2 separate regions of the Homo sapiens genome follow, and region 1 is linked to region 2. The links are contacts of gene promoters, found by promoter capture Hi-C in human tissues and cell types (Jung and others, 2019). All regions are on one chromosome and are shown on one strand. Each heading gives the region's core, a stretch centred on a gene start or on the middle of the fragment in contact. The rest is flanking DNA. Distances are from core to core; before and after follow the strand shown.

Region 1 (5,696 bases), core at 1,628-4,127, 610 kb before region 2:
AAGCACACACACTGCCTGGCATCTTCCCTCCTCTTTCCCTCTTGGCTCTTCTACATTTTTCTCAATGGTCCACTTTAATGTCCTCTGACCCAGAGCCCCTTCACTGCTTCCATAAGTCTCTCTAAGCTGGGGCCATGGAGTTCGAGACCAGCCTGGGCAAAATAGCTAGTCCCCATCTTTATAAACAATTTTTTAAAAGATAAAACAAATTTTAAAGAGAAAACAAAAAAATAAAGCTGAGACCAGAACTAGACTGCACTCTCTGGAGGAACAAACCCTGGATTCACAGGCAGAATACAAGGATTTGCCTGCTTGTCTTTGTGATGGAAGGGTTCTGGTATGTTGTTTCCAAGGAGCCGAGACCTTGGGCTGTTAGCTTTCCCCCTCTGGGCCTTGGGCTCCTCTTCGGTTTCATGATGAGTCTGTTTCATCTGTACCATGACATTCTGCAATCTTGTGATGCTGTGGCAAAGGCCAGGATTAAGGTTGAGTCTTTTTTTTTTCTTTTTAATAGACAGGGTCTCACTCTCTCACCAAAGCCAGAGTGCAGTGGCGCACTCATAGTTCACTGCAGACTCTACCTCCTAGGAGGCTTCAGTCTTAGTGGGGAAGGGAATGAGGGTACTGTGGGGCTACTTCGGAGTACCCCAAACTTGGGAGAGGTGACTTGGTCAGATGTAGGATGCACCCTACTACCCTACTGGCATGAGGGGGCAGATGCTTCTGTAGGGCTGAGGAATGGGGTCCACACGGGAAAACTGCCTGGAGATAGTAAAACCAACATGTCATCATGCCAGTGCTGACCTAGCTCTTCAGAGCTGCTCTGGGGCCTGGTCCTGCTGGTTGCAAGGGATAGGGGATGAGGGTCCTAACCTATCCAGAGGCCTCCTGTTCCATTCCCTCAACCCAAAAGGGAAACCTAGGAAAGAAAACTTTACCTAAGAAAAGGACCAGATGAATCCCCTCATACACAAGTGCACACAAATAACAGCTCAAAGCACCCTTTGTCCTTTTTATTTTTATTTATTTATTTATTTTTTGAAGCGGAGTTTCTCTCTTGTCGCAATGGCACAATCTCGGCAACCTCCGCCTCTGGGCTTCAAGCGATTCTCCTGCCTCAGCCTCTCGAGTAGCTGGGACTACAGGCGCGCGCCACCACACCCAGTGAAATTTTGTATTTTTAGTAGAGACAGTTTCACCATGTTGGCCAGGCTGGTCTCGAACTCCTGACCTCAAGTGATCCACCGGCCTCAGCCTCCCAAAGTGCTGGTTATTACAGGTGTGACCCACCGAGCCCGGACCTTTTCTCCTTATTAATAGGTCTTCTCCTTAGGACTTTTTGTTTGTTTGTTTGAGACAAGAGTTTCCGCTGTTGTTCCCCAGGCTGGAAGGCAATGGCGTGATCTCGGCTCACCGCAACCTCTGCCTCCCGGGTTCAAGCTATTGTCCTGGCTCAGCCTCCTGAATAGCTGGGATTACGGCATGCGCCACCACGCCCAGCTGCTTTTGTATTTTTCGTACAGATGGGGTTTCTCCATGTTGATCAGGCTGGTCTCAAACTCCCAACCTCAGGTGATCCGCCCGACTCAGCTTCCCAAAGTGCTGAGATTACAGGCGTGAGCCACCGCGCCCAGCCTGCTTAGGAGTTTTTTTGAGATTTTTTTCCCCCAAAATTTGTATCTTTCAATTAAGGAAAATAGCCTATGGAACTACAGAGACTTAGGGACAAAAACCAGAGCGCCTTACTCCCTCTTGTGCTCTTCCACTGCAAACTGCTAAAAGTCTTAAAACAGAAGGTGACATTTCCGGAGGAAGGACATACCTTAAGGGCAGCTGACTTTTAATTAAAATTTTTTTTCTTTCTCCACTTTTAAAGGATAGGTAGTTGACTTGTATTTATTTATTTTTTGAAAGAGGGTCTCGCTCTGTCGCCCAGGCTGAAGTGCAGTGGTGTGATCACGGTTCGCTGCAGCCTCAACCTCCCAGACTCAAGCGATCCTCCCACCTCAGCCTCCCGAGCAACTGGGATTATAGGCACGCGCCACCATGCCTGGCTAATTTTTCTTTTTTTTCTTTTTTTTGTAGAGATGGGGTCTCGCTCTTTTGCCCAGGCTGGTTTGGAACTCCTGGGATCAAGCGATTCTCCTGCCTTGGCGTCCCAAAGTGTTGGAATTACAGGCGTGACTCACAGCGCCCGGCCTCAGCTCTATTAATGTTAACAAATATGTATACAAACCTAAGGGACAAGCATTAACTTCTTTCCATTTCCCCGACTCCTGCCATCCGTACTTAGCTCCTGAGTCCCTTTATTGGATGTGATTTTGGACCAGCCCTTCCCATACCCAGACCTCAGTTTCCCTATCTGTACAATAATTATACATTCCCTTCCCAACAAAACACATCAAACCTAACGGGCAGAGCTCGATTGGGTTGCAGCAGCGCGCTAAGTAATAAGTAATGAGTCAGGTAAAATGACTGACAACATGAATTCCTCTTTGGCCAAGCCAAAGTCGCCCGCGGCCACACGCTCTTCCGGGCTGTTGTAGGAGGGGCGCGGCCAAGCCACCGGGAGCCACGCCCCCCACTGGGAGCCACGCCCCAAGAGAGCGGGGCGCGCATTCGCCGCGCCCAACCCTGCGGCCTAGGGAAGGGACCAGAATGACGTCACAACCACTTCCTACGTAACACTCCGCCGAGATAAAGTAGTCCCCAAACCATAGTGGGCTCAGTGCCAAACACCGGGCGACGTATAAAGTCCCAGAGTCTGTTGAGACCCGATTATGGTTTTGAGGCCTCGGAGCGACCTTCCGGAACACTGAAAATGTGTCTTTCCCGGGGCCAGCGGGGGAAGTAGTTCCGGCCTACAATAGGCCGATGGGTTCCTCCGCAGCGGAGGAAAGAGGATGGCGACCTCGTCGATGCCGGAGTCAGAGAGGAACGTGGCTACGAAAGCCTCGGGTGAGCTTCGGGTAGAGTTAGGCGGCCCCACCGTACCCTGCCGTGGAGTGAGGTCACACTGCGGGGATACCCGGAGGCGAGGTCCCAGGCCGGCGGGGCTGTCCGAACAGGGCCCCGGGGTCCCAGGCCCTTTAGTCGCTCTCGCACTTGCCTGAGCGGAAACCCGGCGCCACCACAAGATGGCGTCGGGCCTGGAGCACAGGCAGCGCCGGGGACAGCCCCAAATCGCCAGGCCCCGAGACCGTCGCTGTCAGCCGCCTCCGCAGGGGAACCGGGGGGGAGCGAACCACTGACCCAGGGGGCCAGCGGGCTGTACCACCGGCCCTGCAACCCGGGGGGACGCGGGGGCCGAAGGGCTGAACCACTGGGCCCGGATGGGGCTCACAGAGCGGAACGCTCCACGAGAATCGTGGGGGCGAGGGAAAGGGTCAAGATTACCAGCCATTGACCACCCTCCCGGGAAGGGCCTTAGCCTGGGAAGCACAGCTTCTCCGTCAAGTTTTTCCCGAGCTCCCCTCGCAATACACCAGGAAGCTCCGCCCCGTCGGAGACTCAATCTTCGCATCTGCAAAATGGGCGCAGGGGTGCAAATGGGTGGCCGTGGTTGCCGGGGCTGGGGAGATGGCCCACTTGTTCCAGCCACGGTCACCTCTCTTCTCAGAGTGAAGTTCCCAGACCCTACGCCCCGCTGTCAGGCAGCCCGCCGATCAGATGGAGGAGAACGAGGTGGAGAGCAGCAGCGACGCGGCCCCTGGGCCTGGCCGGCCCGAGGAGCCCTCTGAGAGCGGCCTGGGTGTGGGCACCTCAGAAGCCGTGTCCGCCGACAGCAGCGACGCCGCGGCCGCCCCGGGGCAGGCAGAGGCCGATGACTCTGGCGTGGGGCAAAGCTCGGACCGCGGCAGCCGTTCTCAGGTATGGACCCGGCTGGACGGCGTGGGTGGAGGCAAGGACCGCGAGCAGCAGTGCCTGACAGCCAAGAGGAAACAAGGCTTGTTTGTAGCTAATACTTGGTGTTTCTGGTTTACTGTGAGCCAGGCACCAAGCCAAACCCCTAAAATGGATTTTCTCATTTGAGCTTCATACCTTCTAAGACACATACCATTTTTTCCCACATCTTATAGAAAAGGATGCCGAGGTACAGAGTGCAGACAGAGCCAGGATTCAAATCTAGGCTGTGGTCTTAGCTACTATACTACCCACAGTCCTCACACTTTGAGAGGCAGATGTCTAGGCCAGGAGTGGTAGCTCATCGCCTGTAATCCCAGCACTTTGGAAGGCTGAGGTGGGAGGATCACTTGAGCCCAGGAGTTGGAGACCAGCTTGGGCAAATAGCGAGACCTCATCTCTACAAAAAAAAAAAAAAAAACGCAAGTGCCCTGGGTTAAGACTGGGTCCTGCCTCCAGTTTACTGGGAGACCTCTTTGAGCCTCAGTATCCCGGCTAAAGTAAAGCAGAAATACTTGCTTTCAAGGGTGCTTGATTGTGAGCTCCCACCAGACATCCTCTTGCAAACATTTTGTAAACCATCTCCTCCTGGCTGTGCCACTTCCTAGCCGTGTGATCTTGAGCAAGCTACCCAACATCTAGCTCTGTTTCCTCGTCTGTAAAGTGGGAATGGTAAATATACCTGCCTCATAGAGTTTTTGTGAGGATGAAATGAATTAACATATGCAAAGCTAATAATTAAAACAGTGCTCAGCACATTGTAAGCACTCAGTAAGTATTAGCCATTCTTATATGCAAGATAATGGTCATATTCAGTATATCACGTGATAGAAGTACACAGCAGTGGTCATCACTTTGGGGTCCTGGGGTTTCATTAGTTCAGCAGAGATGGGGGCCTACCATGTGCTCAGCGTGTGCTGGGCCCTGGAAATACAGCAGAGGAAAAGACAAGTTTGGTCCAGGCCCTTGTGGAGGGCACAGTCTGGCATGGAGGCTGTTAAAAGGCACAATGAACCCCACAGTGGTGTGGTGCTGGGGACACAGGCAGCTGCAGCACTGAGGATGAAGAAGTCCTGACTTGGCCTCAAAGCCAGCATTGACTTCCTAGAAGAGGTACCAGCTAAATGGTGGTGAGAAGGCTGGGTAAGATTTAGCCATAGGGTGATGCTGGGAAGAGTTTCAGGCAGAGGGAACGATTTATGCAAAAGCCCAAAGAAAATAGCTCCCCCTGGCTGTGGCTTAGGAGTCCCTTCTCTTATTTTTGTGTATTCCCTGATGAGATCCAGGGACCCTGTGACTTTTTCCTGGGGGACTCTGTGACTGGAGGGCCTCTCTCACTGGTCCTCCGTGGGGCTGAGGGCATGAGTGGCTCCACTGACCATGTCCTTGGGCCTGAGAGCTCTGTCTAGCAAGTGGGAGCTGGCAGGCTGCCCTGCCCCATACCCAGCTGCTAAACTTTTTCCCTCCCTGTTTCATGCCCCTCAGGAGGAGGTATCTGAGAGCAGCTCGAGCGCAGACCCCCTGCCTAATAGCTACCTCCCTGATTCATCGTCTGTGTCTCATGGGCCAGTGGCAGGGGTGACAGGCGGTCCCCCAGCACTTGTGCACTCTAGTGCACTCCCAGACCCCAACATGCTGGTGTCCGACTGCACAGCTTCCTCCTCGGACCTGGGCTCGGCCATCGACAAGATCATCGAGTCCACCATCGGGCCCGACCTCATCCAGAGTGAGTCAGGCAGAGGAGCCCCACAGGGGTTTTCCTGCAGTGTCCGGCAGCCAGCTGTGCCCACCCT
Region 2 (6,075 bases), core at 578-3,077:
TGCCAAACATCTGCACCACACTTTCAGCTGACAAAGAAAGGTCTTTGACATACATAATCTCATATTATCCCTAAAAAAACCTCACAAAGCCATTCTTCTTCTTTTAATTCTTATCACTTTTTGGATAATAACTTGCCCAAGGGCTAACACAGAGAACAAGCAGCAGGAGCAAGGACTCCATCCCAGGTCTCCTGGCTTTAAGAACTGTGCTCGGCCGGGCGCGGTGGCTCACGCCTGTAATCCCAGCACTTTGGGAGGCCGAGGCAGGCGGATCACGAGGTCAGGAGATCGAGACCATCCCGGCTAAAACGGTGAAACCCCGTCTCTACTAAAAATACAAAAAATTAGCCGGGCGTAGTGGCGGGCGCCTGTAGTCCCAGCTACTTGGGAGGCTGAGGCAGGAGAATGGCGTGAACCCGGGAGGCGGAGCTTGCAGTGAGCCGAGATCCTGCCACTGCACTCCAGCCTGGGCGACAGAGGGAGACTCCGTCTCAAAAAAAAAAAAAAAAAAAAAAAAGAACTGTGCTCATCACCACGCCACAGCTGCCTCTTAGATGTAACAACTTATAGGCCTCCTTTACACTTTACAAAGTACCTTCTTATTCCTAAACCCCTCTGGGCCTTGTAACATTTTGTTGAGGGCAACATGGTAGGAGCATCCGGCCCACTTTTCAGAAAAGGCTCAGAAAGGGGAAGCAACTTGCCCAAGGTCCCACAGCTAGTTTTATATGTTTAGGCCTAGACTGAACCCTTGCTTTTCTGAACCCAAAGCACATGCTCTTTATATTGCAGTCCACGACCTCTCTGCAACTAGTCTCATGGTTTTGAAGACAGGAAAACAAGTTCACAGAGGTGACATTTGCCCCAGGTCACACAGCTAGTAAGTGGATCTTAAACGGACGCCTGTCTGACCCCAAAGTCCAGGCAGTTTCCACTGTACCCGCACGAATGCTCTTTTATCCACCCCTCTCTCCGATGTGGCACCTGAGAACCTAGCTCAGAGAAATCAAGTCACTTTCCCAGAGTATCAGAAAGGAAATGTATCAGAGTTGCCTGGAACACAGACGTGTTTATTGTATTAACATCCAGGCCCTTTTCTTTGTACTAATCAGCCTCTGCTGTCATTCCATTTTATGGATGAGGCAGCTGAGGCTCAGAAAGGTGAAATCCCTTTCCCAGGGCTACAAAGAAAGAAGGTGACCCAGCCACGTCTACAGCACAGTAGTGATGGACCACAAAGCCTACTCGGGGAGGCCGAGACCCCACCCGCCCCAGTCCGGGGACCCTACCTCGGCGTCGAACATCTGGTCCAGCGAGGGGCTGCTTCGCACTAGCCCGTCCACCAGCGCCAGCCACAGGCCCAGCGAGCCGTAATACACGGTCTGCATGAGGACGATCTGCGACAGGATCAGCAGCGGGTCCCACACGTAGCTGCGGAACTGACCCGCCATGCCCTGCAGGGACACGAGCCGGGCCTCAGCCAGCGGCCTGTCTCCATGGCAACGTCGCCCCGCCCGGGAGGAGGGACTGGAACCAAGGGGTGAGCCCATTCCAAGAGTCAGGGGGAAGGCGGGGCAGACAGACCCATTCTCAGAGTGAGGGGAAATCCAGCCCATTCCGCCTGCGCGGCCCCCGCCCGTACACGAGCTCCTCTGGGGTCTACTCACCAGTGACAGACTCGACGATCGAAGTGTCTGAGCGTGGCCCGGCCTCACCGGCGGGCTCCCAAAACAGCGCTGACAGACAGGACCATGGAGGAGAGGCGCTGCCGGCCTAGAGAGGCAAAGCTCCAGCGACCACGGCGGCAGGAGCGGCTGCGTAGGAAAGAAACGTTTCCGGGGAAAGCAGCGGAGGGGCGGGGCTGAGGTTGCGCAGGCGTAGTGGGTGCAACCTCTGCCTGAACCTCCTGAACCAGGTACAAGCAGCCGGATAGCGAACTGAGCACATGCGCAGAAGGAAGAGTGAAGGCAAACGGAAGAGAGGAACGAAGGCCGCAGAGCTTGCGCGCCCTCTAGAGGGGAATTCTTTTTTTAAAGGAAGGCGGCTAGGGGAGAGGCAAGTGGGGTGGCTTAGGACGCGGTAATGATGTTTGGGAATTAACGAGGTGATAAACTGTGTCGTTATTTTCAGCCTAAATTCTCAATGTTTTCTCCTAGTTAGAGTCTGATAACTTGAAGTGGACCTGCAAGCTCCTCCACGTAGGAGTTTGCCAATGTTCCCGCTGTACAGATAGTTAAGCTAAGGGCCAGAGAAGGAAAGCAACATACTGTTTCAACGACACAGTTAGTAGCAAAGTAAGTATTAAAATTCAAGTGTTGGTCGGGCGCGGTGGCTCACGCCTGTAATCCCAGCACTTTGGGAGGCTGAGGTGGGCGGATTACCTGAGGTCGGTGTTTCGAGACCAGCCTGACCAACATGGAGAAACCCCGTCTCTGCTAAAAATACAAAATTAGCGGGGCGTGGTGGCGCACGCCTGTAGTCCTAGCTACTCGGGAGGCTGAGCCAGGAGAATTGCTTGAACCCGGGAGGCAGAGGTTGCAGTGAGCCGAGATCACGCCATTGCACTCCAGCCTGGGCAACAAGAGCAAAACTCCGTCTCTAAATAAATAAATAAATAAATAAATAAATAAATAAAATTCAAGTGTTTCCTCAACACTACAACATTGATTTCGCACCTACTCGGTGGCAGGAAGGCTAGAACATGTATATATAAGACAGCCCCTGCCCTGAGACACAGATGAACTATATTAGAAGGCAGAGTAGTGGGTGTTTTAAAATGTGGGTGTCCAGTGGAAAAAGGCACAGGTTCTGAAGTCGCACATAGGAGTAAATCCTGACCCTCTCTGCTGCCATGACTGTTTTATCTATCTTCCAAATCCGAATAGTGGACAGTCAGTAAATATTTGCTGAATGAGTTAAGAACAGAAAAAGCAAGAGCAAATCGATAACTCACTTATTCCTACTCCAGCAGACGAAAACCCATCAACTTCATTGATCCTAGGTTCCCCCTCTCTGAAGTGGAAAGACGGGAAGTAAGTTGTTCCAGGAAAAGAATTTGGGTTTTAGGGCCAGCTATGCCACCCAGTGTGACCAGCAAGCCACTTCCTTCTTTAAACCTCAGCTTCCCTGTTTATGAAATGAGGAGTTGGACATGATTAACGTTTTCCACCATTTAATCTACCTTCCAGTAATTATTTTCTCATTAAAAAAAAAACTTAGGCTGGGCACAGTGGCTCATGCCTGTAATCCCAGCACTTTGGGAGGCTGAGGCGGGCAGATCACAAGGTCAGGAGTTCAAGACCATCCTGGCTAACATGGTGAAACCCCATCTCTATTAAAAATACAGAAAATTAGCCGGGCCTGGTGGCAGGCGCATGTAGTCCCAGCTACTCGGGAGGCTGAGACAGGAGAATGGCGTGAACCTGGGAGGCGAAGCTTGCAGTGAGCCGAGATTGCGCCACTGCAGTCCAGCCTGGGCGACAGAGCGAGACTCCGTCTCAAAAAAAAAAAAAAAAAAACGTATCAAAGAGCCATGTAACTGCCAATCAGAATTTCTGAACAGCTTGTGGTAGCCGTGTTATCACCTTGAGCTGATACAATTCCAGACAAAAGTAAAGAAACTTGAGACTTTATTGAGAGTGTGCGATTGTCCTTATCATTTGGAAATACCCTGAACAGTTCCCCTGGACTCCAGTTGGGGAGTTATTAAGGCCCAAAGATTTCTTAGGTGCTTTCCAGCTCAACCATTCTTTTAGGCACCTCAATTCAGTCCAACAAATATGTATTCAAATTCCTCTAGTTCACTGATTATGCACATGATCTAGTGTTTCTGAGAAAACATCTGTTTCTTAAGTGCCTACATGATCTTGTTTAATTCTCACAATCTGAAAATATAGCTATTGTCCCCTTTTTATAGGGGAGGAAACTAGGCTTGGGGGGAGGTGGTGTGACTCTCTAGGTCAGAGAGCTCACAGGGAGCAGAGCTGAGATTCAAATTCAGGACAACTGACTCCAAACATCAAGATGACTTTTAGTTTAGTTTTGGTTTGGTTTAGTTTGGTTCTTTGAAACAGGGTCTCAATCTGTCACCCATGCTGGTTTGCAGTGGCGCAATCATGGCTCACTGCACCCTCAAACTCCCAGGCCCAAGCCTCGGCCTCCCGAATAGCTGAGACCACAGGCATGTGCCACCACACCTGGCTTTTTTTGAAACGGAGTCTTGCTCTGTCGCTCAGGCTGGGGTGCAGTGGCATGATCTTGGCTCACTGCAACCTCCGCCTCCCGGGTTCGAGCGATTCTCATGCCTCAGCCTCCTGAGTAGCTGGGATTACAGGTGTGTGCCACCATGCCCAGCTAATTTTTGTATTTTTAGTAGAGATGGGATTTCACCATTGTGGCCAGGCTGGTCTGGACTCCTGACCTCAAGTGATCTGCCCGCCTCAGCCTCCCAAAGTGCTGGGATTATAGGCATGAGTCACCATGCCTGGCCCGCACTTGGCTTTTTTGATTTTTCATTTAATTTTATTTTTTTGTAGAGACAGGGTATCCCTATGTTGTCCAGGCTGGTCCTGAACCCTGGGCTCAAGCAATCCTCCCACCTTGGCCTCCCAAAGTGTTAGGATTACAGGCATAAGCCGCTGTGTCCAGCCAAGATGCCATTTTAGAATAAAAGAACAGGAAAGAAGGGAGGAAGGGAGGGAGGGAGAGGGAAATAAAGGAAGGGAGATAGTAAAATAGGTGGTGGAGTAGCAGGAAGTGGAAAAGGGGCAGTGAATCTCTCTGCTCAGTTAGCCCTGGGGTGAGGGATTAGGGAGAAATGGGAGGAAAGGCTTAGAAAAGGGCTGCAGAGGTTGACAATACCCAGGGCAGCTGTCTTCCTTGCAGATGCTGGAATGCGTGGCTCTTCCTGGGCTCTGCTCCCTTCACGTCACAGCTGGGCCCACTCCACCCCATCTCCTCCCAATAGGAAAGGCCCTGCCTACCCATTCTGCTGAACTAGAAAACACAGGTAGCTTTTGATATTAGGGCTGGCTGGAATGTCTGATGTCATCCCTGGAGTCCGGAGCTCACCTCTGGGAAAACCCCACTGGGCGTGCAAGCTAACCTCCTGCCCTTTCCTTTCCCCTTTGGGAGTTCAGTTCTTGGATTCCCGCCTTGCCAAGCTTCGGAAATGTACATCATCCTCCGTCTTAATTTGGATCCAAGAAGGAAACCAAGAGCTGGGGAAAATCATGGCAACCCCTTTGTTTAGCTTCATTGGCCCATTTTCAAATTTGACCACAAGCAGTCTGCTTCAGACCACAGAGTCTGAACTAGAGCCCCACTGGCTTGCTATGTGACCTTGGGCGAGTCCCCTGGTGGGTCCCAGTATCCCAAACTATCAAATGAAAGAGGGACATTGGACTCCGACTTGCAGATGCTGTCATGGCCCTGTGCCATCTGAATCACCTGAGGAACATACTGGATATTCAAATTTCCAGTCCTTGTTTGCAAACCTAAGTCCAGTTCAAGTCTCCCAAAGCAGAGTGTGGAAATCTGTGTATTTAGAGAGCTCCCCAAGTGATTCAGAGGTGCACCCACATTTGATAACTACAGCACAAGATGATCTGTAGTTGACCCTAAACCGGCTCCTTCATCCAACAGAAAACTGCTCTGTGACCTTGGCGAGTCACATTCCGGCTTCAGGGTTTTCTTCCATCTGTAATATGAGGGGATTGGATTTGAATAGCTAGCTGGTCTACGAGGGTTCTTCCTACGCTGCCAAGTCTGTGGTTCCAAACTTATGAATGAAATGTTAAACTTCAGGTCAGAGGCAGAGTGACGAAAAGCCACAAGCTGGGACAAACTGTCCTTTGGGTGGAGGGGAGGGGAGTGCCTCTGGTCACTTGGTCTCTTTCGTCACTTTCACACTGGGGCCCCACTGCATGCATGTAAGGACAATCGCTAAGGTCACCTTCTGGATCCACCCCCATAAATCCCTTGGGAAATGTTCTCCCATAGGCCCATAGGCTTGAGAGCCCTGCTTAGATTCGAATCCTGGCTCTCTGGCTGTCTTGCTGTCCTGCTGGGTGACCT

What was found. The method cuts DNA at HindIII sites, captures the fragments that hold promoters and counts their contacts. A contact is called where the count stands out against the background at its distance.
Region 1: a contact is called between the fragment with the promoter of ZNF335 here and the fragment with the promoter of SYS1 in region 2, in 1 of the 25 tissues and cell types used here (lymphoblastoid cells).

The regions. Positions count from the first base shown.
Region 1 is chr20:45,969,384-45,975,079 of GRCh38, reverse strand. It overlaps ZNF335 (zinc finger protein 335), which reads left to right and starts at 2,877. Exons shown (of 28, transcript NM_022095.4): 1 at 2,877-2,958; 2 at 3,620-3,870; 3 at 5,389-5,629. The coding sequence starts at 3,670. RefSeq lists an enhancer at 2,256-2,475 and a silencer at 3,246-3,365. The HindIII fragment of the contact is 24,986 bases long and covers 1-5,696 here.
Region 2 is chr20:45,358,908-45,364,982 of GRCh38, reverse strand. It overlaps SYS1 (SYS1 golgi trafficking protein), which reads right to left and starts at 1,827. Exons shown (of 4, transcript NM_033542.4): 1 at 1,668-1,827; 2 at 1,290-1,454. The coding sequence starts at 1,451. SYS1-DBNDD2 (SYS1-DBNDD2 readthrough (NMD candidate)) reads right to left here and starts at 1,814. Exons shown (of 6, transcript NR_003189.2): 1 at 1,668-1,814; 2 at 1,290-1,454. LOC124904914 (a long non-coding RNA gene) reads left to right here and starts at 1,615. Exons shown (of 2, transcript XR_007067609.1): 1 at 1,615-1,915; 2 at 2,157-2,627. RefSeq lists an enhancer at 1,658-2,097. The HindIII fragment of the contact is 13,954 bases long and covers 1-4,299 here.